Regions from separate parts of the Homo sapiens genome. Here all the other regions are linked to region 5. The links are contacts of gene promoters, found by promoter capture Hi-C in blood cells and fetal thymus (Javierre and others, 2016). All regions are on one chromosome and are shown on one strand. The core of a region is centred on a gene start or on the middle of the fragment in contact, and the rest is flanking DNA. Distances in the headings are between cores, read along the strand shown.

Region 1 (3,400 bases), core at 343-2,842, 510 kb after region 5:
ATTTTTTACAAATTCAACAAATATTCATTGAATATCTTAAATGCACCAGGGGCTGTTGTTCACCCAGTGACAATGAAAATATTTGGTTTCATTTAATATAGGTTCCGAAATACTTTAGTTAAACTTAAATATAATTAAATAACTAAAGTAGTTTCCCTCTGTTGGATGTAAGCAAGGCATTTTTAAAAGTCATTTTTATGTATTCATTAGCATTTTCAATTACTTTTTCCTTCTTTGTTACTCTTTTTAAGAAATATGATTGAAAATTAGCAATATACTTACTTAAGAAAAGATGTTGGGAAAGAAGATCCTTATTTTATTTTTATTAACTACAGGTTTGTTGAATGAGCTTTCTTGTGTTATATGTCATACTAAGCCCAAAATACATAATTCTGTGGTAATTTAAAAATAAATAATTATATAGGTTTCTCTCTCTCACACACACTCTCTCTGTCTTTAGAAAGATCATTGCTCCTCTTGTAACTCGTCATGGAAAGCTGTGGTCCAATTTCTGGGGAGCATTGAGTCCTGATGGATACTATGCACGATCTGAAGATTATGTGGATATTGTTCAAGGGAATAGAGTGTAAGTTACTTGGTTTAATATTTTAATGTGAAATACCATAATCTAAAGATGTAGTCTTGTTAGTATTACTTGAAATTTTTTTTGCATTCATCTCTTTTCTTTATAGTTAATGGGAATTTGAGAACCCAAGACCACTTGGAATCCTGAAATACTAGTATAAAACTAATATCTTAAAAAAATGTTTTTAAAGTCCCAAATCTTCAAAGGAACAAGCTCATTGCTGTGGGGAATACTAAGAGATAATATATGTTTACCATACTCACATTATGGTTGATAGAAGAGTAATACTCTTTATTTAAAAGCTTGGAAAGGGGATTTAGTTTACTAACTTTTTAATGGTTATAATTAAGGGTTGTTTTGATAGGTTTTAAAATTTATAATTAAGCCAACAGTAACACTAACAGCCAGAACATTCCAGTATTCCTGATTGCATGAGTTTTTTTGTGTGAAATAGCTATTATTCTGCTTTAAATACAAGTTTTTTTTACCAATATTAGATTTTCACTTCTAGAGATTGAAAAGAATATATTTGCTGAAAAGTGTGTGCATGATTTATATTTATTTCAGAGACAATGGTTGATTACTAAAAATAATCACAATTGAAATAGTTTTGCTAAGGTAATATTGGAGAAGAATGTCATTCTTTTTTTCATACATATGATGGACCAGAGTGACTAAGACATTACATGCTTTGCCTTAGTTCTCAAACATGTCAGCCTGATTAAAAAGGGGCAGTATACTCTCAGGACTAAAAGGATGTGCCCTTACATTTAGAAAAAAAAAGGCACACGTTTCTGTTCAAACAGTTGAGTGGTAAAAAGATGTGTTGCTTGTGGAAATAGTAATTGGTGTGGAAAGCTTCAATCTGAATGATGTAAATACAATAAAGGTTTTTGTTAGCTGCAATTAAAATGCACAGTGGAGGAGAAAAGACTATTAAGATCGTATTCTGTTGTTTCTGTGCAGTTGTATTGACTCTGGGTGAGTTGTATAGACAATATACCTGATTGTATCTTTGGGCACATCACAAATGAGGGTTTGTGAAAGTAGAATGGAAAATTTGTTTCAAGTTGCTTTAGGCATTGGTGATTTTCTGTCCAACCTCCTGTCATTCTTGTCTAAAGTATAAGGAAAAAAATATGGCAGAAGCTTTTGATCTGGAATACACTTCATGTCCAAAAGCTACACGAAGGAGCAACTGTGTGTGTGTGTGTATGTGTGTGTGTATAAGTTGAAACACTGAATAATTCCCCAGAGATTAATTTCTGAATTTAGCTGACACGTTGTATACAGTAATTCCCCTTTATCTATGGTTTTGCTTTCCATGGTTTCAAGTCTACTGTGGATTGAAAATACGAAGATATGTTGAGATAGAGAAAGTGTAAACATTCATGTAACTTTTATTACAGCATATTGTTATAGTTGTTCTATTATTGTTGTTAGTCTTACTGTACTTTATGTATAAATTAAACTTTATTATAAGTATATATGTGTAGGAAAAAACGTAGTGTATGTGTAGCGTTTGTTACTATCTGCTTTCAAGCATCCACTGGGGTCATGGAATGTATCACCCTCACATAAGGCGGGGACTGCTGTACTCCTTAAGGCATTTTTCTTTGAGGCTAGTCTAGTAAGACATAATATCATATTTCCGTTAATATCTAACTGCATTTCTTGGTCAAGATCTTGCCTTGATGTTCTCTAAAAGAAAGGCGCACAGTCTTAGGGGCAAAACTTGTTTTGCAGTTTTTATGAAATCAGTCATGTTCAGAGTGAGAATATAGATGTGGGAAAGGATGCAACGTTCATGTGCTCCCAGCTGTATTTCTTCATGTTTTCCTTTTTCTATAAAATATTTAAGATGGCTTAATGAATGGTAAGAGAATATAATTTTGGAGAATTTTAGGCTATATTCAGTGGTATTTTGGTAAATGTGTAACAACTGGCTTTTGGAGGTGGAGGATTCCCTGATTTAAAGTGCTTGCCCATTTGTTTGGTGTAAATACTTCTACCATGGCTGATTTCAAGTTTCCAATGTGAAATTACTGAACATGGACTTGGCAGAAAAAGTTAACTTTGGGGAGCCAGTATGAGCTGGGTCTAGTGCACCACTGGTTGTATGTTATGATTCATGCTATCAAATTCTTTAATTTTAAATAGAAACACCGTCTATACAATAGATTATAATAGTCTAATTGTAACAACTGATTGAGATATGATAGCTATAATACAAATGCCAAACAGATACCAACCCAAAATTGAAATGTATCCAAAGGGGCAGTGGTTTATCTCCTAAATCTCATTAAATATAGTGTATACAATGTAATCTTATATATATATCATTGAATATATTTGTATGTTGATTCAATAATTTATGTATACAAAATCTAAACACAAAGCATTTATTTTAAAAAGGTAAAAATGAAACTTAAAATTGTTTGTATTTGTGGTATATAAGAATGTCTTCTCTTTACTTTCAGAGGAGTATGGAATGTCCCATATATGGCTAATGTGTACTTAATTAAAGGAAAGACACTCCGATCAGAGATGAATGAAAGGAACTATTTTGTTCGTGATAAACTGGATCCTGATATGGCTCTTTGCCGAAATGCTAGAGAAATGGTAAGATATGCAGTGATGGCTTGCTTGAATGTTCTTATAAGATGGCTTGCTTTACCAGTTGGTGTGTCACTGTGTTTTGATGCCCTTTGTCTTGCTAATTTGTAAGTACTAGCCAATTTTTTTGGTTCTGTGTTAAAAAATTTGGGAGTAATTTTGGAGATAATTTAACATTTACTTATAGAAATGGTATGA
Region 2 (3,407 bases), core at 865-3,364, 480 kb after region 5:
TGATTATAATTTTTGCTGAAGTTTATGCCAATAATGATAAAGGATTGGGGCTAAATGACAAGGTTAGGGAACACTTCTGTTGCTTTCTTTTTTGGCTATATGGGAGCTTTTGCTTCTTGTTGAGACTCAAGATGATGGATTCTGTGGCTTGTACCACTGCCTGTTTTTGTAAAAAGTTTTATTGAAATGCAGCTGTGCTCATTTGTTTACATATTGTCTGTGGTGGCTTTTGCAACACAGTGACAGAGTTCAGTCACTGTGACAGACAATATGGTCATCAGGACCTAAAATATTTTCTGTAAAAGGCCAGAGAGTAAATATTTACTGACTCCCGCTTTAGGCCATAGTTGAGAACCATTGATACAGTCTGGGAACTGGCACAGAATCATTTTTAAAATAGTTTGTCAGACAGTCTTATTTATGAGTGAGGAAGAGATGGGTAATGTAGAGGTCTCTAGGGTTTTAAAATTAATCTAGCCTTGTGCCTTCTAGTGGGAGTGGAGAGGATTTGAATGCAAAATAAATTAAGTAGATGGAATCAATAGGATTAAGGAAAAGATTCCATGAGATAGGCCATGGAAAGAGAGGAGTGAAGGGTGAATGAAAGATTTTCAACCTAGGTGACTATGTGGTTGATGTTGTCACAGAAGTAGGGAACACAGAAGGACAAAAAGGAAAAACACTTAGAAAATCTCAATCATCTATTGAGATAGAACACTGACATGTCTGGCAGGGGACTCAGTATGACCACATCAGGTAGAATCTTATGGTTTTTTCAGGACCCAGGCATACTTACCACAGTTATATGTGGAAAATTTTATTTTCTTCACATGTAGATCGACTCAATTTCTGTGAGAATATTTTTATGACCTGTGTATCGGGGGAACCACCCCCAATATTTCAACGTAGGTTCTTTCCTATTTCCCTAAGTGTTGGCCGGTCTGAGAAATAAAGGGAAAGAGTACAAAAGAGAGAAATTTTAAAGCTGGGTGTCCGGGGGAGACATCACATGTTGGCAGGTTCCGTGCTGCCCCCCAAGCCGCAAAACCAGCAAGTTTTTTTGTTTTGTTTTGTTTTCTATATTCATTTTATTAATTCATCCCCCCCAAGTTTTCTACAGAATCCTGGAATTCTTCTCAGTGTAGTCAATACATTGATAGTTTGTCGATTTTAATGAAGACATCCCTCTCAGAGCCTGTGCTGTTCCGCAGTTGGGATTGATGCGTCTCTAGGCCTGCAGGGACTTCCCTTCACCATCATATGGGAATCCTCTGTGACTCTACCCTGTGTGGATTCTTCTGTGCCCTGTTTTTCATGTCTTCCTCTTTCTTAGTTTATTCCCTTAATTTGGTGGAGCACGTTCTCCAGTAGCTACCTCTACTTTCCTTTTCCCCACTCTTCGTACCAAATTTTGCAGATTGGGTTCTCCAGAAAGTAGAATCTTAGGTGGAAATTAGTGTGTGGGAGGCTTATTAGGAATGCTTGTTGGATCAATGCTTATGATTATGCAGTTTGGTTGGATTCATCTGTGTTCTTCTACTGATTTTTCCTGGGGTCACTTTTGTGGCTGCAGTAATCTGGCTGCTCCACTGAGAGTATGTCTGGTTGTTAGCTGGGACTGTTGGCTGGATACTTTTGCTTATCTACAGGTCATCTCTTCGAGGATAATTTGGGTTTCTTTTGCTGTATTAGTCCATTTTCACGCTGCTATAAGAAATACCTGAGACGTACTTGGTTTTCAGGGCACTACATTGCCTTGAAAACCAGCAAGTTTTTATTAGTGATTTTCAAAGGGGAGGCAGTGTATGAATAGGGTGTGGGTCACAGAGGCACACAGAGGCAATAAAATATCACAAGGCAAATGGGGGCAAAGCGAGATCACAGGACCGGGGCGAAATTAAAATTGCTAATGAAATTTCGGGTATGCATTGTCATTGATAACGTCTTATCAGGAGACAGGGTTTGAGAGCAGACAACTGGTCTGACTAAAATTTACTAGGCAGGAATTTCCTCGTCCTAATAGGCCTGGGAGTGCTACCAGAGACTGGGGCTATTTCATCCCTTATCTGCAACCGTGTAAGACAGACATTCCTAGAGCGGCCATTTTAGAGACCTACCCCTAGGAAAGCATTTTCTTTCTCAGGGCTGTTCCTTACTGAGAAAAAGAATTCAGCGATATTTCTCCTATTCGCTTTTGTAAGAAGAGAAATATGGCTCTGTTCCGCCCGGCTCTCAGGCAGTCAGACCTGATGGTTACCTCCCTTGTTCCCTGAACATCGCTGTTATCCTGTTCTTTTTTCAAGGTGCCCAGATTTCATATTGTTTAAACACACATGATTTACTAACGATTTGCACAGTTAATGCAATCATCACAGGGTCCTAAGGCTACGCACATCCTCAGCTTACGAAGATGACGGGATTAAGAGATTAAAGTAAAGACAGGCATAGGAAATCACAAGAGTATTGATTAGGGAAGTGATAAATGTCCATGAAATCTTCATAATTTATGTTCAGAGATTGCAGTAAAGACAGGCATAAGAAATTATAAAAGTATTAATTTGGGGAACTAATAAATGTCCATGAAATCTTCACAATTTATGTTCTTCTGCCATGGCTTCAGCCGGTCCCTCCATTTGGGGTCCCTGACTTCCCGCAACACCTGTGTGCATTTTTTTAAATTTGACAATTTGACTTTTTACAGCCAAAATAAATTTAAGTAGGAAACCTTCCTTGCCCTTTGAGAAGTTTTAAGTAAGTTCAAATAACTTTTCTAAAGTATTTAAACACAGAAATAGCAGTGCTACTCGAATGAGATAGGAAAGGTTTCAGCAACGTGAAATTTTTCTTCAAAGGCAATTATGTGATAACTTTTGTCTTAACTTTTTGCTTTAAAATAATTGTGTTTTGTTATAAAGATAATACAGGCTTATAAAACGCTAAATTATAAAAGTTGCCATAACTCTTTTTCAAACAACTGACATTTATTAATAGTTTGAGCTATACTGTTTATATAATCTGTATCCATCATTAGGGTTTCAAAGACAAAAAATATTCACTCACATTCCAAAAGTGCATTTATAACTTTTTTTAATTTTTAAATTTTATTATTATTTTACTTCAAGTTCTGGGATATATGTGCAGAACGTGCAGGTTTGTTACATAGGTATACATGTGCCATGGTGGTTTGCCGCACCTATTACCCCATCATCTAGAGTTTTGTTTTTTTTTTTTTTTGAGACCAAGTCTCACTCTGTCACCAGGCTGGAGTGCAGTGGCATGATCTCAGCTCACTGCAACCTCCACCTCTCGGGTTCAAGCAATTCTCCTGCCTTAGCCTCCCAAGTAGCTGGGATTACAGGCGCACATCACCACGCACAGCTAATTTTTGTATTTTTAGTAGAGATGGG
Region 3 (3,480 bases), core at 432-2,931, 440 kb after region 5:
TAATGTTATTTAATACCTATCCAAATTCACCTTTGCCTCTTTTTCTCAAGTATGTCTTTTTATAGTTGGTTTGTTTGATCCGGATCCATAAATTTATCTTCCTAAACACCTTCCAAGCTGTCACTTACCTTAGTCTACACTGCAGGACTCTGGTAGCTTCAGGGTCAAATCTAGCCTAAATATTGTTTTTCAAAAGCCTCAAATTAAGTTCTATGTTTCAGGAAATTTTACTTAAAAATCAGAATCTTTCTTGTTTTGGAGGAGAAAAAAGGAAAAGAAGGCCTGGAAACCCTGGGTTTTCCTTCCCGTATGGCAACAACAGCTGGCTGACTCTGAGAAGTCCTCTCCTTGGATGGGGTGCTTGTGCACTCCAGTCACCATAGCAGGTGCCTGGCCTCTTCACTGATGTGTTTGCAGCCCCCTCTCTGTATACATCACTGAATTAGATAATTATCATTGTTTCTGAAATTATTTTTCTTGTCTCATCTTTCTTAAGTCCAGTGACTCTTCGCATGCTATGACTTTCAGCCTATGGTCCAGTGGTTTTGTCCCCCCTGGAATATTTGGTAACGTCTAGAGACATTTTGTTTTGAGCAGTGGGTGCTACTTGCATCCTGTCGGTTGAGTCCAGGGACCCTGCTAAAGTGTCCTGCATTACACAGCATGACCCCATCACTCTCTCCCAGCCCCACCCCAAGAAAGAATTATCTGGCCCCAAATGTCAATAGTGCTGAAGTTGGGAAACTCTGCTACAGTCTGATGGCACACTTCTAATTTCACTGCCCCGCTTCTAGTGTCTTCTCTATTTCCAAATGTATTTATTATCATTTCCCAATTTGCACTCTGTTCATACTGGATTCCTCACTATCCAGTCAAGAGATCATGCTTTTACACATCTTTTGGAGGAGGGGGGATTATATTTCCAGGTTCCTTGACTGTGAAAATACTGTCTGTCATTTTTTAAGGCCTGAACATAGATATATTAAGTCTTATATTCTAGTGATTTTTTTGTAGATTTTTATTGTTCCTTCAATGTTGAACTCCTACAGTATTCTCTGCAAATATATAATCTGTGATTTAAATTAGTATTTAGTATGTTATTCTCAGTCTTTTCATATGAACTAACTTTACATTCTTAGTTGGATTTTAACCTGCAAGAGGATAGAGATCGTATCTCTTGAATTGCTGTGCCTTAGAACTCCCAACCTCGGAAGCTTCTCTGCCTATAGGCCTTACAGAGGGATAGTCCATTAACCCATGGCTTGCCCTAGTCACAACTAACAAGATAAGCAGGAACCCTATGTTGGTCAGGGTTCTATTCAAACGAAGAACCCATTTTAGATATCTTGAGCAAAAACAGATTTAACAAAAGTAATTACAAGCTTATACAATTACTGGAAAGCCTGGAAGAATGGGCTTTAGCAAAACTTTCAGCAGTGACTTCTAGAATAGCAGAAATAGCTGACCAAACTAGGAGGCTACTACCTCTGTCCCAGCGGGGAATCAGGAGCCCACCATTGGAAGTATTGAATTCAGAAATAGGCTTCCATAAATGTAACCCAGGGATGGAGAAGCTGTCTCTGTTGATTCCTTATGCCCATGAGGCAGTGACTATACCAACAATGCAGAATTCAGCCACAGCCTTTGCTGCTGTCCATATGTCTGTCTGTCTCTCTGCCTCTCTCTCTCTTTCTCTCCCTCTCCGTCCACCCGCCCTCCTCCCCAGTTCCCACAAAGTGTGAGATTGACCCTAGAACACTGGTGTAGGGTAAACCGTATCCTTCTGACCATGCTTACCAATGGAAATGGCCAAAAGTGATAGGGATAGGACCATCTGTTTTTCAAATCTCACAGGAATACATCTTAGAGGAGGGGTATAATTTACATCCAAATGTTTAGCTCCAAAGAACTTGGAGAAATGCACCTTTAATATTTGATTTTCTCATGACTTTTTCAGTAATTGTTCTTCCTGAAGCTTGGCAAAGCATTAAATTATTTTAAATTTTTATGGATGTTTTTGACAATAGGGACCCAAGTAAGGGCTTAGCATTACATGAAATACATGCTTTTTAACGTGGAGCTCTATTATAAAGTTCTAAGCATGTTGAATACTTTGTCAGCTTTTAAGAAGACCAATTTCTAATAAAGTCATGGGAAAAAAAGAAACTTATGAAATAGAGGCAACTAAGTAATAGAAATTTATGTCCCCTCACCATCCTTATTGTTTTGAGGCCAGTGGATTGTAACTTTTATGGAAGAGACGGCATGGTACAACTTAATCCTAATTACAATTTTATGATATTTGTTTGACTTATTCATTCATTTCTTATTTACTAGTGCTCTTATTTTATACAGCACCCTATAACTTTCAGTAAATTCTTAGCTGACTAGTGTCACTTTTCTGAGATAAAAGTGGGGCTTACTCACAGCTTCTGGATTTTGATAATGTCAGTAATAAAATTCTGGCTCATTAAGGAAGGAAGGATTTAATTTGACTCAGCCTTTTAAAAATTCATGATAACAAAAGTACAAAAGAAAACTTTGTGGACTACCATAACTGTACTTTCTAATTGTAAATTTATGTTTCACAATTTTTATTTGAAAGTTTGGTTTTTATGTAATTGTTTTTTACTTTTGTAGTTTCTTTGCTCGTAACAGTAACTATAGTTAAGCTTATGGCTGAAACTCCTGCTGAACAAATCTACAGAGGAGTATCTTGCATTCAAATTAGAATGTTGATCTTCCTCACATTATTTGGAGTTGGGACACCCCAACTACACATGGTATTTATTTATTTTAAAATTTCATTTGTTTTGCTCATTGTGATAATTTCAGGTGGTAGGTAGATGTACCTTAGTGTTCAAATTAACACATAGACAAAACTAGATTGGGAATGGCTGGATTAGATTAATACATGCCTATCTAGGTTTATTATGTCACCATAGCAGTTTTAGTTTTTGGTTTTGTATGTGTGTGTTTAAAATGATACAGCTAAAAACATTTGCTTTTATTTTGATGAAGACAAAAATATTTGGGGAATCTGGATTTGTTTTGGTGATATGCCTAGGATGTAGTCAGTTTAGCCCTTCAAATGACGTTTGTCATCTAAATTATTCTGAAAGCTCTAGTAAGAAATGACAGAGCTCCTATAAGAAATGTTGAAGCACCAGTAGAAATCAGTAAGAACTAGGATATGGTAGATCTAATGAAGATGGCATAACTTCGTTTAAGAGTTGTATTTTCGGTTACAATGACAATAAATGCTTGTAACTGAAAACAGAGATAGTTAAGAATAAATTTAAATTTGTCCATGAACACACTATCAATTAGTAAACAATGTAAAACACTGTGATAGTATTCATTTTTTTGTTTGTATATCTTCATGTATTTTCTTTATAAAATCAAGATATACATACATATTGATAAACAATAAAGCCACAGTTTTGTATTTGTCTTATTTACAAAATAGTATATTTTAAG
Region 4 (3,669 bases), core at 765-3,264, 460 kb after region 5:
GCCTTTCTGTAAATAACTGGCGATACTTGCCCTCTCCATCCCACTGCACATACTGCTATGGTGACCAACTCATTCCAGTTTGCCTAGGACTTTTCCAGTTTTAAAACTGAAAGCCCTGTATTTCTGGAATCTCCTCAGCCCTGGGCATACTGGGATGGTGAGTCATTCTGCATACTACCCTCCACTTTTCAGCACTTCTCTTAATTTGTGGTTTGTCTGTTCATTGTCCAGAGTGGGCTGTGGAAGCCCAGGCATCCATGTGAAAGCTAGTGTGTGTGAAGATGCCCTCTATGTAGCATTAGAGGTTGGAAGTGACTTTTTTCTTTAAGCATACCATTGCCCCTCTTTTTCTACAAAAATGGTAGGAAATCATTGGATGTCTCTTGACACATCCTTTTTAGGTTTTTTTTTTCTTGTTGAAATTGTGACGTGAATTACTCTTGAGGAATTTTTGTCTTGAATTTTTTTCAACAGTTCTGCAAAATAAAATTAATTCTCTTCAACAATTCCACAAAATAAAATTAGACTTCGTGCCTTCAGTTCGTCATAGTTTTTGGTGACTCAGTACTTAACAAAGCAACAAAATTGTGTGCAATGAAACCTAGGAAAACCAAGTTTTTTAGTAACTGTGAATCCCGAGTTGTCTTAGATTGGTTACCACTTAACTGCAGGATCCTGGATAAGTCTTGTTTTCTCTTTAGATTATGGTTTCCTCCTTCATGAAAGAAGTGGGCTTTGCTAGACTGACCCTGAGGTCATAATTCACATTAAAGGAAATGACTTTCAGTCAGTGGAAGAGCAGGGTATGATTACTTTATGTACCAAATACTTATTTTCTGGAATCCATTTGGAGTCATTTTTATATCTCTCTAGCTTCGCCTCTGAGTACAGAACACAGCATAATGCACTATCCCCATAGTACCTCTTTCAGATAAGACTTTCTGACTGTAGCTAGGATAATATGTCGGACATCCCCAAGACCACCTGCGGGTTCAGTGATTCACCAGGAGGACCTACAGGATTCAGCATATGGTTGTACTCATGTCTATGACTTATTATTGTGAAAGGATACAAAGCAAAATCAGCAATGAGAAAAAACACATGGGTGAGGTCCAGGGAAACCAGGAATAAGCTTCTAACAGTTCTTTTCCAGTGAAGTCACACAAGATCTGCTTAATTCTCCAAGCAACTAACTGGTTGTGACAACATGTGTGAAATGTTTACCTACCATGGAAGCTCATTAGAGATTCAGTGCCCATAACTTTTCTGGAGAATGGTCACATAGGCAGCCTCTGTACCAAAATTTCAAGCACCCAGAAGGAAGGCAGGTGTTCAGCATAAACCGCATTGTTTGTATAATTTAGCCACAGTGAGCCATCTTATCTAGGAATGATGGGAACCCTTCCCATTGGAAGACCATCTGGAAACCATATGGAATCCAACTTTTCAGATGCCTGCCAAGGACCAACCTTACAAGCAGATCTTTCTAAGGATAGAAGTCTTAAGTTGCTATCTCTTTTCTGAACATAATAAAACTCAATGATTGCTTCAGCCCTTAACCTGTTGTCACCAGGGGAGGCCACATGACATTGAGGAATAACTCTGAAGTTCTACTTCTGGCCCTACTAGTAATTTGTTAGGTGACTTTGGCTAAGTCGATTACTTTACTGGAGTTTAACCACCTGTGAATTTGAGATGATTATGCTAACTACATAGGGATTTTGTTAAATTATTTCATTCACACCTACATGCAAGACATATGATATTACTTGCCCCTGAGTCCACTCATTCTGAAATGTTTTTTAAGAACCTACTGTGTGCTTAATATTGTGATAAGCTCTGGAGGTCTAATTGTGAGCAAAAGAATGTTCTCTGCCTTTCTGTAACTTACAGTCTCATTGGAGAGAGAGACTTTAATCTCACATAATTTGAGATTATTCATAATTTGAGATTATGCAAATTAATATGTAATTACAATTTGTGGTGAGTGCCCTGAAAGAAAGGTAGAAAGTGCAGTGAAAACATGGGTACTGGCCTACTCTAGTAGGTCAGAGAGGGTCTCTCTAAGGAAATAGCATATGTGTAAGAATCTCAGGTTTACCTAGGCAGTGGCCACATCAAGATGTCAGGGAGGAATATTAGATAATGGTCTTGAAAAGGCTCTTCTCTTTGAATGGGAGGGTGCAGGCATTATTAGAAAATAAAAATACAGGCCAATGTGGTTGGAGAAGAGAGAACAAAGTGGAGAGAGAAAGTGGATGAGATTGGAGAGGAGAGAAGTAACCTAGGACCACATTGTGGTAATGGAGTTTCTCTACTATCCTAAGAGGGTATTTACCAATGAAGTGACATGGTCAGATATCTAACTGTTTTGAAATGATCACTCTAGCTGCTTTGTAAACAGAGGTTTAGAGTGTACAAAGTTGGCCTAAGAGACGATTGCAGAAACCTGAGCTAGTGCTGATTATAACTTGAGTTAGAGTTATTATAGCTTGCTGGGAGATGGAGAGGAATGTAAAGATTTGAGAAGGCGTATCTAGAGTTACTTGCTAAACTGTTTGAATAAACAGCTTCACGACTATTTTTCCATAATTTTTAAAAACAATCTGGATAGCATCTCTGGTAGAGAAAGGGATGGGAGTTATAACTCGCTGAGTTTTGCACATCACCTACAGTCTATCTTGCACATGCATCCTTTGAATATATGTGTGAGATGCTGCCTAACACATATGTAGGAGTTTGTGTCGACTGCTTTATATATACTAACTCATTTTACTCTCATGGAAATACTGTCAGGTAGATGCTATTACAGACATATTACAGTTGAGACGCAGAGTTTAAGTAACTGACCAAGTCAAAACCAAGAAGAAATAATAGAGCTGGGATTTAAGCTTTACTTTGCCTTCAGATCCATATGGCCAACTATATGGATAAGTAGCAAACTTATGACCCTTAGGCCAATTCTGGCCCTTGGCTGTTTTTGCACAGCCAGCCAGACAACTACAAATGTTTTTTACATTTTTAAAAGGTTGTAAAAAAATAAGGAAAAAATCAAATTGTATTAGACAGTGTATGTGGCCCATAAGGCCTGAAATATTTACTATTTGACCTTTTGCAGAAGAAGTTTCTCAACATCTCTATTATGCTTTTACTACGAAAACATTTTTCTTTAGTAGAAAGTTGAGAAACAGTAATCTTTACAGATAAAAGACATGTCTGGTCATAAAATCAGTTAGTTGTAGAATGAGAACAGTGTACTCACAGTTACTTCTGTGGCACAATAATTTTTTTTTATTGTTGCCAGTTTAAAATTAAGAACTGTGTTTAAAGTTACTTGAGAAGATATGGATAAAAGGCAGCTGGGCTAGTGCTGTTATTTAACTGTGATGCCCTCATTAAGAAAATTGATTTCAGTGCCACTGAGACTCCGTCTCAAAAAAAAAAAAAAAAAAAAAAAAAAAAAGGATTTCAGATGGACTTCAGAAGCTGCTTTAGCATTTGGTGACAGGATATATTAGCAAAAACACTTTCTGTTTTAAAACCATGGTTTGTTTTTGAATAGAAAAATTGTGTCACCACTGAATATTGGTAAATTGTGTTCAGATATCAACAGCTATTTGGAGAAAAAAATGACTCCAACAATGCATTTTTTTTTTCTTCTAGAGCTTT
Region 5 (3,528 bases), core at 1,007-3,506:
ACTATAGTTGGTTACGTTACGCAGAAGTGGGACCCCTTTCTGCCTAAATTCACAATCCAAAATGCAAACAAAGAAGATATTTTGAAAATTGTTGGTCCTTGTGTGACATGTGGCTGTTTTGGCGATGTGGATTTTGAGGTACAATTGACAAAATGAAAGAAGTTTTCATTTAGGTCCTGATTTTTTTTTGCAACATAATTCAATTTTTTTATGTTCAAATTAATTTCATTTAAAATAAGTTCAGAAAATGACATATTTGTAATATAATGTAATCAGCCCATATTGTACATGCTAAGAATAGGAATATGTAAATCCAGAGATATAAAGTCCAAGGATTTTTTAAAAATAATATTACAAAATTTATCACCTTGGCCATCATATCTGTCATAGACCAGTGTAAGTATTATCCAAAGTAATATTAATAAATTTTACTATAATAAAAGCATGTTTAGCTAAATATAATTCTATGTGTTCTATGGACAAAGCTACTATATCTCTTTGATTAGAATAGTAAATGTGTTGCTATTTTAATGTGTGCAAGACTTTGAACATCAAAAATTTTTGGACACATAGCTTTGCCTTTTTAAGATAACCAATATTTCCTGATTTTGAAAATTAGCACTTCATTCTTGTTTCAGTATGTTTTATTTATGTAGAATCACAGGACACATGGCAATAAAGCCAATATATACAGTTTAGAATCACCTAAATTATGTATCTTCTTTCCTATGGGCCTTGAGATCACATATCCCAGTTTAGATCTCATTTCAGCAGCACGTTACATTAAAACAGCATTAACTCAAAAGCTGTGTTTCTAAGACTTGCTAAGTTAGTTTTGTAAAAAAAACAAAAAAAAAAAACAAAAAAAAACCTTATTCTCGTATTTGTATAAATTGAATATTTAAAAAATAGAAAGTTGTAAATTTGATCTGTAGCAATATAAACTATCTTAACAGGTTGTCCTGGACATACAACTTAGGTAGAGGAGACAGCCTAATTGAAAGTGTATATTTATTTTTCATCCATTCATACATAAATATCTCAGCAAGGGCATTTAGTTCTCAGGACTTCAGGAAACACTATGCACGTAGAATACAATGCAAATTTTGCAAACTGAGCTGTTCCAACTTCACCCTATCCCCAAAGGATTTGGCATGACTTTCCTACGAGTAATATGATTGAGGAGGACTTTAAACATAAGAGTTTTAGCATTCATGCTATAGAAATGTCCTAAGTAACCCTCTCTATTCTCTATCTTTTACTACCCTGAAAAAAGTGATAGTTTCTCTTGAATTACTTTCAGCATCAGGATGGGAAGCAGAATAAACAAACAAATAGCTGATAAAGTTGATTTGTGAACTCCTTCTAGCTGAGAAGGACTGATTGATGTCTAGTTGGTCTTAACTTCCTATATGGTACATTAACCAGGAGGATTTTTTTAATGTAAAAATAGGATTTAGGATTTGTTAGAAAGTATTGACCTAATAAATGTCTGAGTATAATATAAAAATGTGATTTAACAATGGCCAATAATATTTAAATGTTTTAATAATTATAAAATTTTAGCAACTGAAATTTGAAAGTTTACAAATTATGCCTAGAAATTAATTTAATTCCTTCTGAAATATTTTTTCAAACATATCTTCTTTTACATTTTTAAGATGGAGAATTCAGGTTTAAAATCTGGACCTCAAGTAAAGAAATCGCCTTCATGCTTAGATGATACAATTGAACTATGTACCTGCTGCCATCTTGTGGTGGCTGAGCCTTAATTATTTATCCTGATATTCTCCATCTGCATACAAAAAAGAAAAAGAATTATGATGGACTAGAAAACTGTCAAAAAAGCAAAGTTTCTAAAAAGTAAACTGAAAAGCTAAATTTACAAACCTATGCTTATATGATGGAATGAATAACATGGAATTGTCATTTTGAAGATGACAAATAAAATAATTCAAATCTCTCATGAAGTAAACACCCTCAGAAGTATAAAACCAACTTTTTTCACTGTCAAATTTAATACTCCTTATTTTCTTTCTAAAGGTGAAAACCATTAATGAAAAGCTTACAATTGGGAAGATTTCAAAGTACTGGTCAGGATTTGTAAATGATGTCTTCACAAATGCTGACAATTTCGGAATTCATGTTCCTGCAGATCTAGATGTAACAGTCAAAGCAGCAATGATCGGTGCCTGTTTTCTCTTTGTAAGTATGGGCTTTGAGAGCATGAGTGATTTGTTATTCTCCCTCTTGCTTGTTAATTACAATATAGCCTATCCCATTTACACAGTTTTTACCCCCAAAGAGTATATTTTATTCATAGAAGGATAGCTTAGGACCAATGTTCTTCAAAAATTAGAATTTAGAACCCTGCATTTCTGTTAGGCAGCCCCTCTTCAGTGATCTCATATCCCCTTTCTCAAAGATTGAAGTGTTATCACATCCTATTCATCATTTCTTTAAAACCTAGTTTCCCCTTGCTTTTACGTTCAATTTAGATTTTTGGCTTATTTTCACTTGAACTAAAAAATATGCAAACATAAATATCACATGATTTATCCTGGATAAAGTTCCAGACTGGTTCATTGCATAATAGTGAGCTAGATGATATTAAGAATGTTGCCTTCTCAGTGTGAACATAGACACATGAAATGATTTGATGAGTTAATAGGTACCAGTTGCCATTATTTCTAAGATACTATGTTCTTGTTATTACTTTCCAACTTACAATTATATTGAAAACCTTTTCTTCTTTGGTATATGGAGATTGGTGATAGAAGAACAGAAGTCAAATAATACCTGTATCAAAATGCTTGACCTATATCCTGTTCTTAGTTTTCCCTCTAATATTTACCTAATTTCCTACCATTTTCAATGCAGCCATAAAAACTTATGGAGTTTTTATTTGTTGATATATAAACACATGTATTTTCTATAAATACATGAAAAAGATGTGTATACACAGGCACACACATAAGTGATTAAAACAAACAGCATAAGAGTTGAGAGTAGGTTGCAGACATGATGCCTTTTCCCCTAATTATATTAGTGTGCATTTCCTAAAAACAAGGAATTTTTTTACACATCACAGTACTATTGTCAAAGTCAGGCACTAAACACTGATTCAATGCTATTATCTAATCTACAGACTTTATTCGGTTTGCACTGATTTGCATAATGATGTCCTTTCTGACAATAGAAAATCCAAGATCATGAAGTATGTCCATTTTGTCACATCTCATTTGTTTCTTTTCACCTGGAACTGTTCCTAAGGGGTGTGTGTGTGTGTATATGTGTGTGCATGAACATGTGCACATGCATGTGCATTTCCCTGAGTCTCATGACATTGGCATTTTTGTTTTTGTTTTATTTTTTGTTCTATTTTTTGAGATAGAGTCTCACTCTGTCACCCAGGCTGGAGTGCAGTGGCGCAATCTTGGCTCACCACAACCTCTGCCTCCCAGGTTCAAGCGATTCTCCTGCCTCAGCCTCCCGAGTAGCTGGGATTACAGGCATGTGCCACCATAC
Region 6 (3,198 bases), core at 689-3,188, 490 kb after region 5:
CGTGATCACCAATTCCTTCCAAATTTCCAGGATGATGCTGACTGGAGCTTTAAAAAGTGACTAAAGGACATATCACAAGAAAAGGAGCACTAATCCTTAATCATTTAGAAAGACCTAGGTGTACTAAGAAATATTAAGTCTTCTTGGAAACATTTTCAGTTTGCACTATCACTGTTTCTGGCATTTCAAGCTATGTGATGCTCCTATTATGTTTTCTCTGATATTATCATATCTAGTTCATTTTGTTATTCTATTAGACAATAAAATATGAAGTTTTATTATAGATATTATATTTGGTATAATACAAAAACTCGAGAAAATTTGAATATGTAAACATTTAACACTAATACTTTATAATATTAGGTTAAAGTTAAATAAATTCAAATGAGTATGTCACGTATTCTTCTTATCCAGGCTGATGGGGAAAGAAGGCTGATTATTACAAACATTTTTTAACCTTTATAAAAGGTGGAAGGATTTTTTGGTATGATTTTTTGTAAGTTAGTTTTACTTATTATTTTGTTTAGTAATGGATGTTTATAATGATAGTGGTTTTGAGCCATAATATTGAACTAAACATTTAAGCAGTTTTTTCATTAAAAATGTATATAATCTATAAGTGGTGAAGTGATTATAGTATGTTGATGATACTAAAGTATAAAAAATGAGCTTATTTCCTACTTTCTCCAAATTTTATGCCATTGGAAAAAATATTAACAATTTTAAGTAATTTTAAAAATCATTTATACTGCCCTCCCATATGGTTTTAATTCATAGCTGTTTTCAGTTTTTATGTCTCCTCAGTATATATCTATGAACATTTATATTTTCCTTTGTTTTCATAGTAGTATATAAACAATTTTGTGTTTCTTAATTAACATTTTATTTAAAACATATTTAGGTATTTTAAATAATTATTTTCATACTTGGTCTGTATAAATCTAATATGAATCAATTTTTAGATAGAAACTGGTTTCTAATTTGAAGGTTTACTTTTTCTTGAAACCCATTTATTGTTAGTAATGTATAAGATGCATATTTTAATGTTCAGCCTTTTCTTTTAAATATCAAACAATATACATCTTAATTATGAATTTGGTAGCTTTTTAAAATTTTACTTTAAGTTCTTGGATACATGTGCTGAACGTGCAGGTTTGTTGTACATAGGTATGCATGTGCTGTGGTGGTTTGCTGCACCTGTCAATCCGTCATCTAGGTTTTTAACTCTGCATGCATTATGTATTTGTCCTAATGCCCTCCCTCCCCTTTCCCTCCACCCCTCAACAGGCTCCAGTGTGTGATGTTCCCCTCCCTGTGTCCACGAGTTCTCATTGTTCAGCTCCCACTTATGAGTGAGAACATGCAGTGTTTGTTTCCCGTTTCTGTGTTAGTTTGGTGAGGATGATGGTTTCCAGCTTCATCCTTGTCTCTGCAAAGGACATGAACTCATTCTTTTTCATGGCTGCATAGTATTTCATGGTGTATATATGCCACATTTTCTTTTTTTATTATTATTATTATTATTATTTTTTTTTTATTGATCATTCTTGGGTGTTTCTCGCAGAGGGGGATTTGGCAGGGTCATAGGACAATAGTGGAGGGAAGGTCAGCAGATAAACAAGTGAACAAAGGTCTCTGGTTTTCCTAGGCAGAGGACCCTGCGGCCTTCCGCAGTGTTTGTGTCCCTGGGTACTTAAGATTAGGGAGTGGTGATGACTCTTAACGAGCATGCTGCCTTCAAGCATCTGTTTAACAAAGCACATCTTGCACCGCCCTTAATCCATTTAACCCTGAGTGGACACAGCACATGTTTCAGAGAGCACAGGGTTGGGGATAAGGTCACAGATCAACAGGATCCCAAGGCAGAAGAATTTTTCTTAGTACAGAACAAAATGAAAAGTCTCCCATGTCTACTTCTATCCACACAGACCCGGCAACCATCAGATTTCTCAATTTTTTCCCCACCCTTCCCGCCTTTCTATTCCACAAAACCGCCATTGTCATCATGGCCCATCCCCAATGAGCCGCTGGGCACACCTCCCAGACGGGGTCGTGGCTGGGCAGAGGGGCTCCTCACTTCCCAGTAGGGGCGGCCCGGCAGAAGCGCCCCTCACCTCCCGGATGGGGCGGCTGGCCGGGCGGGGGGCTGACCCCCCACCTCCCTCCCGGACTGGGCGGCTGGCCGGGCGGGGGGCTGACCCCCCCACCTCCCTCCTGGACAGGGCGACTGGCCGGGCAGAGGGGCTCCTCACTTCCCAGTAGGGGCGGCCGGGCAGAGGAGCCCCTCACCTCCCGGACGGGGCGGCTGGCCGGGCGGGGGGCTGACCCCCCCACCTCCCTCCCGGCCGGGGCGGCTGGCCGGGCAGAGGGGTCCTCACTTCCCAGTAGGGGCGGCCGGGCAGAGGCGCCCCTCACCTCCTGGACGGGGCGGCTGGCCGACTCCCCCCCCCCACCTCCCTCCCGGACGGGGCAGCTGGCCGGGCAGAGGGGCTCCTCACTTCCCAGTAGGGGCGGCCGGGCAGAGGAGCCCCTCACCTCCCGGACGGGGTGGCTGGCTGGGCGGGGGGCTGACCCCCCCCACCTCCCTCCCGGACGGGGTGGCTTCCGGGCGGAGACGCTCCTCACTTCCCAGACAGGGTGGTTGCCGGACGGAGGGGCTCCTCACTTCTCAGACGGGGCGGTTGCCAGGCAGAGGGTTTCCTCACTTCTCAGACGGAGCGGCCGGGCAGAGACACTCCTCACCTCCCAGACAGGGTTGCGGCCCAGCAGAGGCGCTCCTCACATCCCAGACAGGGCGGTGGGGCAGAGGTGCTCCCCACATCTCAGACGATGGGCGGCCGGGCAGAGACGCTCCTCACTTCCTAGATGGGATGGCGGCGGGGAAGAGGCGCTCCTCGCTTCCTAGATGGGATGGCGGCCGGGCAGAGACGCTCCTCACTTTCCAGACTGGGCAGCCAGGCAGAGGGGCTCCTCATATCCCAGACGATGGGTGGCCAAGCAGAGACGCTCCTCACTTCCCAGACGGGGTGGCGGCCGGGCAGAGGCTGCAATCTCGGCTTTTTGGGAGGCCAAGGCAGGCAGCTGGGAGGTGGTTGTAGCGAGCCGAGATCACGCCACTGCACTCCAGCCTGGGCACCATTGAGCACTGAGTGAACGAGACTCCATCTGCAATCCCGGCACCTCGGGAGGCCGAGGCTG
Region 7 (3,502 bases), core at 320-2,819, 350 kb after region 5:
AATGGCTTCCATTTTCTTTCCTTATCCATAGAAGCAATGATCCTTTTAAGCTTTATCATGAGACTGCAACAATTCGGTAACATCTTCATGCTTCACTTCTAACTCTTAGTTCTCTTGCTATTCTCTCACATCTGCAGGTACTTCATCCAATGAAGTCTTGAACCACGCAAAATCATCCAGGAGGGTTGGAATCAACTTCTTCCAAGCTCCTGTTAATATTTATATTTTGACTTCCTCCCATGAATAACAAAAGTTCTTAGTGGTATCTAAAATGGTGAATCCTTTTTAGAAAGTTTTCAATTTACGTTGCCTAGATTCATCAGAGGAATCTAGGCCTAGCTTTTGGCCTGTCTTTGCTTTCAGCATGCCTTCCTCATTAAGCTTAATCTTTTCCAGCTTTTTGACTTAAAGTGAGAGATGCACGAACCTTCTTTTCACTTGAATATTTAGAGGCATTTGTAGGCTTATTAATTGGCCTAATTTCAATATTGTTTTGTCTCAGGGAATAGGGAGGTCCTAGAATAAGGGGAGAGATGGGAGAATAGTTGCTCTGTGGAGCAGTCACAACAACACTTACTAAGTTCACCATCTTATATAGGCATGGTTCATGGGGTCCCAAAACAATTATAATAGTAACATCAAAGATCACTGATCATAGATCACCATAACAGATTGTTATGAAAAAGTCTGAAATATTGTGAGAATTACCAAAATTTGACAAAGAGACAAACTGAGAAGTTGCTGTTCTGCAAAATGGCACTGATAGACTCCTTGATACAAGGATGCCACAAACCCTCAATTTGTTTAAAAAAATGGAGTATCTGTGAATCACAGTATAGCAAAGCACAGTAAAACAAGGCATGCATGTACATAATGAGGTATCTTGAGAATGGGACCCAAGTAAACATGAAATTCATGTTCCATTATGTTTTAAACATATAGCCTGAAGATAATTTTATACAATATTTTTGATAATGTTGTGTATGAAACGTTTACGTACGTTGAACCATCAGAAAGCAAAGGTATCAGTATCTCAATCACCCATGTGGACAATCTGTGGTTATTTGACGTCACCATCATTCCTGACTCTAAATTCATTATGCTACTGATAAGTAATCATTTTCTTACATTACTCACAAATAAGTGCTTAACAGTAAAAAATAGGATGTATCATTAGTACAGTGAAAAGAGAATGCGTTCAGGGTAACTAAGCAGCACAGTAGTATCTCCAGAATGCCTGTGTCGGAAAGCCACCAATAAGCAATGGCAGGCTTTCATTCTTTACCTACAATGCTGTATTTTGATTACAAGGTTATCATTCACTGAATTTTATTATTTTAAGTGAGAAGAAATATCAGAAGTAGCCAAGTGACCAGCAAGTGTTTTCTCTACAAATGAGGAAGCATTCTGATGGATGACTTTTCAGAATGTTTCCTCTGGAGTCCGCTGTCTCATTAACAATGGTTTTTGTCTTAGAAGTCTCTGTTGATTTTACAGACTGACACAATTTCTTATTCTGTGATGAATGAATGCTCTTAGAGTCCTTCAGTAAACCCATCACATATTTTCACCATGTCATCTATAGGCACTTTGCAGTTTTAACAGTGTCCTCATCATCTTTCACTTGTGACATCATGTTGGTGCTGAAAGTTTTGGATTTTTGAGCATTTCAGATTTTGGACTTTTGGATTAGGGTTGCTTAGTCTATACAGCATTTTATGTGCCCGAACTCTGCATGAATATTATAATCTTTTCTTAAAGTTAGAGATTGGTTCATCCTTTTTGTTCATTTCTTTGTTTTCAAGAATAAATGACAACACAGTTTTTGTTTTGCTTTCTATTTTTTTGTTTTTCAAGAGTTTTGGAGCATAGTCAGGATCATGATGATAAGAAAGAGATGTATATATGTAACAAACCTGCATGTTGTGCACATGTACCCTAAAACTTAAAGTATAATAAAAAAAAAGATGTATACAGTTGGTAGAGCATATTGTTAGCAGGAGTTTGAGAAGAGGGGTTTCAGTCAATTGAGAGATCCCCATGGAAGAAGCAGGATGAAATACAGATAACAGAACTAATTCTTACAAATTTTTTTTCTGAAAATGGTCCAAGTGTCAATTAGGAACTTTCCAGGTTTGATTTGAAACCCCCACCACAGAATTTGTTTTTCCTCCCTGAGAGATTGATGGGTTACTGTTTTGGGATTAAAGCCTTTGGGGGCTTTCTCTGGTGGAGAAATAGTTCAGACAAAAGGTAGTGGATCCATTAGATGGCTAATATAAAAGTGGACAATGTATTTTCCAGTTGCATGAGTGTTTACCATAAAGGCAGACATCTTGGGGCATAGGGTTCTTTATTTTGGGATCCTCTTGGGCCCTGTAGCCTTTACAACTGTAAAGACATAAACCTGTTTGCCTTTCGTAAGGAATTTTCCCACTGTAGCCATTCTAAGTTACTTTTGCTAAGGTTCTCCCATTCGTCTCGAAAAGCACAGGTTCTGGGTCTCTGGTTTTTATACATGAAGTTGGCTAGAATTCCAGAGGGCGAAGCTCTAGCAACCTTTGACCAGATAAACCCATGATTCTATGTCTTTTATTAACCTTTCCTACCTACTAACTGAGTTGAGTTTATGTCTGACCCAGTCAAATACCTGAGGCCTCCCTACTGGGCCCAGTCCTGTTGTTGGCATGACTTTGAAACCCAGTGTAGATCAAAAATGCTCAAACTCAGCTCAAATCAGAAGTTCATGAAGCTTAGATTCAAAAATCTCACCCATGACCCCAGTTGCTGCGAAAGAGCAGTGAGTACACTGGGCATGCTGGGTACCTTAACTTGGTCACTCAGTGCTCCTGGGATCACTGGAAGTTTGCTTCAAGATCTGACTTCTCATGTGAAACTCTTAAAAGAAAAACTTTAGGCAAATTCAGCAGAGTTTATCTGAGCGAAAAACGATTCATGAATCAGGCAGCCCTCAGAACCAGAAGAGTTTCAGAGAGCTCCACCGAGCAACATGGGCAGGCAGTATTCATAAACAGAGGAAAGAAGTGACGTACATAAATCAGTTGATTGGATCCAGCCTGGTATTTGCTTTATTTGGTCATGGTGTGATGAGGCATTTGCCTTCAACGGACATGGTCTGATCAGTTGACAGCCCGTGATTGGCTGAAGCTCCACTACCATCATTGGCTGAGACTCAGCTACTTGTTACAAGAATACAACCTCAAATCAAGTTGCAGTCTGCTATTTACAGAGGCAGCTTTAGGCCCAATTTAATTTATCAGGTTATGATTTAGATTACGTAGAAATGTGTTGTTTTATTTTTATGTGGTTAGAGAATTTCCTGTTATCTTGCGGTTAGTAATTCCTAGCTCATTACATTATGGTCGGAGAACAAGCTGTATTATTTTAATTTTTTTGTAATATTTTAAGATTTGTTTTATGAGCCAGAATGTGGTCTGTCTGGGTGAATGTTCCGTACGTTGAAAATAATGGTTATTCTAAT

The links. The method cuts DNA at HindIII sites, captures the fragments that hold promoters and counts their contacts. A CHiCAGO score of 5 or more calls a contact.
Region 1: a fragment that was not itself captured here is called in contact with the fragment with the promoter of PLSCR5-AS1 in region 5 in 6 of 17 cell types (M2 macrophages, total B cells, naive B cells and 3 more); the score reaches 6.9 in M2 macrophages.
Region 2: a contact is called between a fragment that was not itself captured here and the fragment with the promoter of PLSCR5-AS1 in region 5, in 2 of 17 cell types (non-activated CD4 T cells and neutrophils). The highest score is 7.3, in non-activated CD4 T cells.
Region 3: a fragment that was not itself captured here is called in contact with the fragment with the promoter of PLSCR5-AS1 in region 5 in 4 of 17 cell types (monocytes, total CD4 T cells, M0 macrophages and 1 more); the score reaches 6.7 in monocytes.
Region 4: a fragment that was not itself captured here is called in contact with the fragment with the promoter of PLSCR5-AS1 in region 5 in 2 of 17 cell types (total CD4 T cells and naive CD8 T cells); the score reaches 6.7 in total CD4 T cells.
Region 6: a contact is called between a fragment that was not itself captured here and the fragment with the promoter of PLSCR5-AS1 in region 5, in 2 of 17 cell types (neutrophils and M2 macrophages). The highest score is 7.4, in neutrophils.
Region 7: a fragment that was not itself captured here is called in contact with the fragment with the promoter of PLSCR5-AS1 in region 5 in 13 of 17 cell types (monocytes, naive CD8 T cells, activated CD4 T cells and 10 more); the score reaches 14.0 in monocytes.

Annotation. Positions count from the first base shown.
Region 1 is chr3:146,078,924-146,082,323 of GRCh38, reverse strand. It overlaps PLOD2 (procollagen-lysine,2-oxoglutarate 5-dioxygenase 2), which reads left to right. Exons shown (of 20, transcript NM_182943.3): 12 at 461-586; 13 at 3,067-3,208. Among named protein-coding and RNA genes, the nearest start is that of LNCSRLR, 11 kb to the right of the region's middle. The HindIII fragment of the contact is 291 bases long and covers 1,447-1,737 here.
Region 2 is chr3:146,112,677-146,116,083 of GRCh38, reverse strand. The region is part of intron 3 of PLOD2 (procollagen-lysine,2-oxoglutarate 5-dioxygenase 2); the gene reads left to right. Among named protein-coding and RNA genes, the nearest start is that of LNCSRLR, 45 kb to the right of the region's middle. The HindIII fragment of the contact is 8,067 bases long and covers 1-3,407 here.
Region 3 is chr3:146,144,741-146,148,220 of GRCh38, reverse strand. The region is part of intron 1 of PLOD2 (procollagen-lysine,2-oxoglutarate 5-dioxygenase 2); the gene reads left to right. Among named protein-coding and RNA genes, the nearest start is that of PLOD2, 15 kb to the left of the region's middle. The HindIII fragment of the contact is 593 bases long and covers 1,385-1,977 here.
Region 4 is chr3:146,128,675-146,132,343 of GRCh38, reverse strand. The region is part of intron 1 of PLOD2 (procollagen-lysine,2-oxoglutarate 5-dioxygenase 2); the gene reads left to right. Among named protein-coding and RNA genes, the nearest start is that of PLOD2, 31 kb to the left of the region's middle. The HindIII fragment of the contact is 1,759 bases long and covers 1,135-2,893 here.
Region 5 is chr3:146,588,330-146,591,857 of GRCh38, reverse strand. PLSCR5-AS1 (PLSCR5 antisense RNA 1) reads right to left here and starts at 2,256. Exons shown (of 2, transcript NR_046698.1): 1 at 2,070-2,256; 2 at 1,533-1,795. It overlaps PLSCR5 (phospholipid scramblase family member 5), which reads left to right. Exons shown (of 8, transcript NM_001085420.2): 5 at 1-138; 6 at 2,044-2,205. The HindIII fragment of the contact is 1,724 bases long and covers 2,067-3,528 here.
Region 6 is chr3:146,096,134-146,099,331 of GRCh38, reverse strand. The region is part of intron 7 of PLOD2 (procollagen-lysine,2-oxoglutarate 5-dioxygenase 2); the gene reads left to right. Among named protein-coding and RNA genes, the nearest start is that of LNCSRLR, 29 kb to the right of the region's middle. RefSeq lists an enhancer at 1,441-1,990. The HindIII fragment of the contact is 9,903 bases long and covers 1-3,198 here.
Region 7 is chr3:146,241,703-146,245,204 of GRCh38, reverse strand. The region is part of intron 1 of PLSCR4 (phospholipid scramblase 4); the gene reads left to right. Among named protein-coding and RNA genes, the nearest start is that of PLSCR4, 7.7 kb to the left of the region's middle. The HindIII fragment of the contact is 2,371 bases long and covers 384-2,754 here.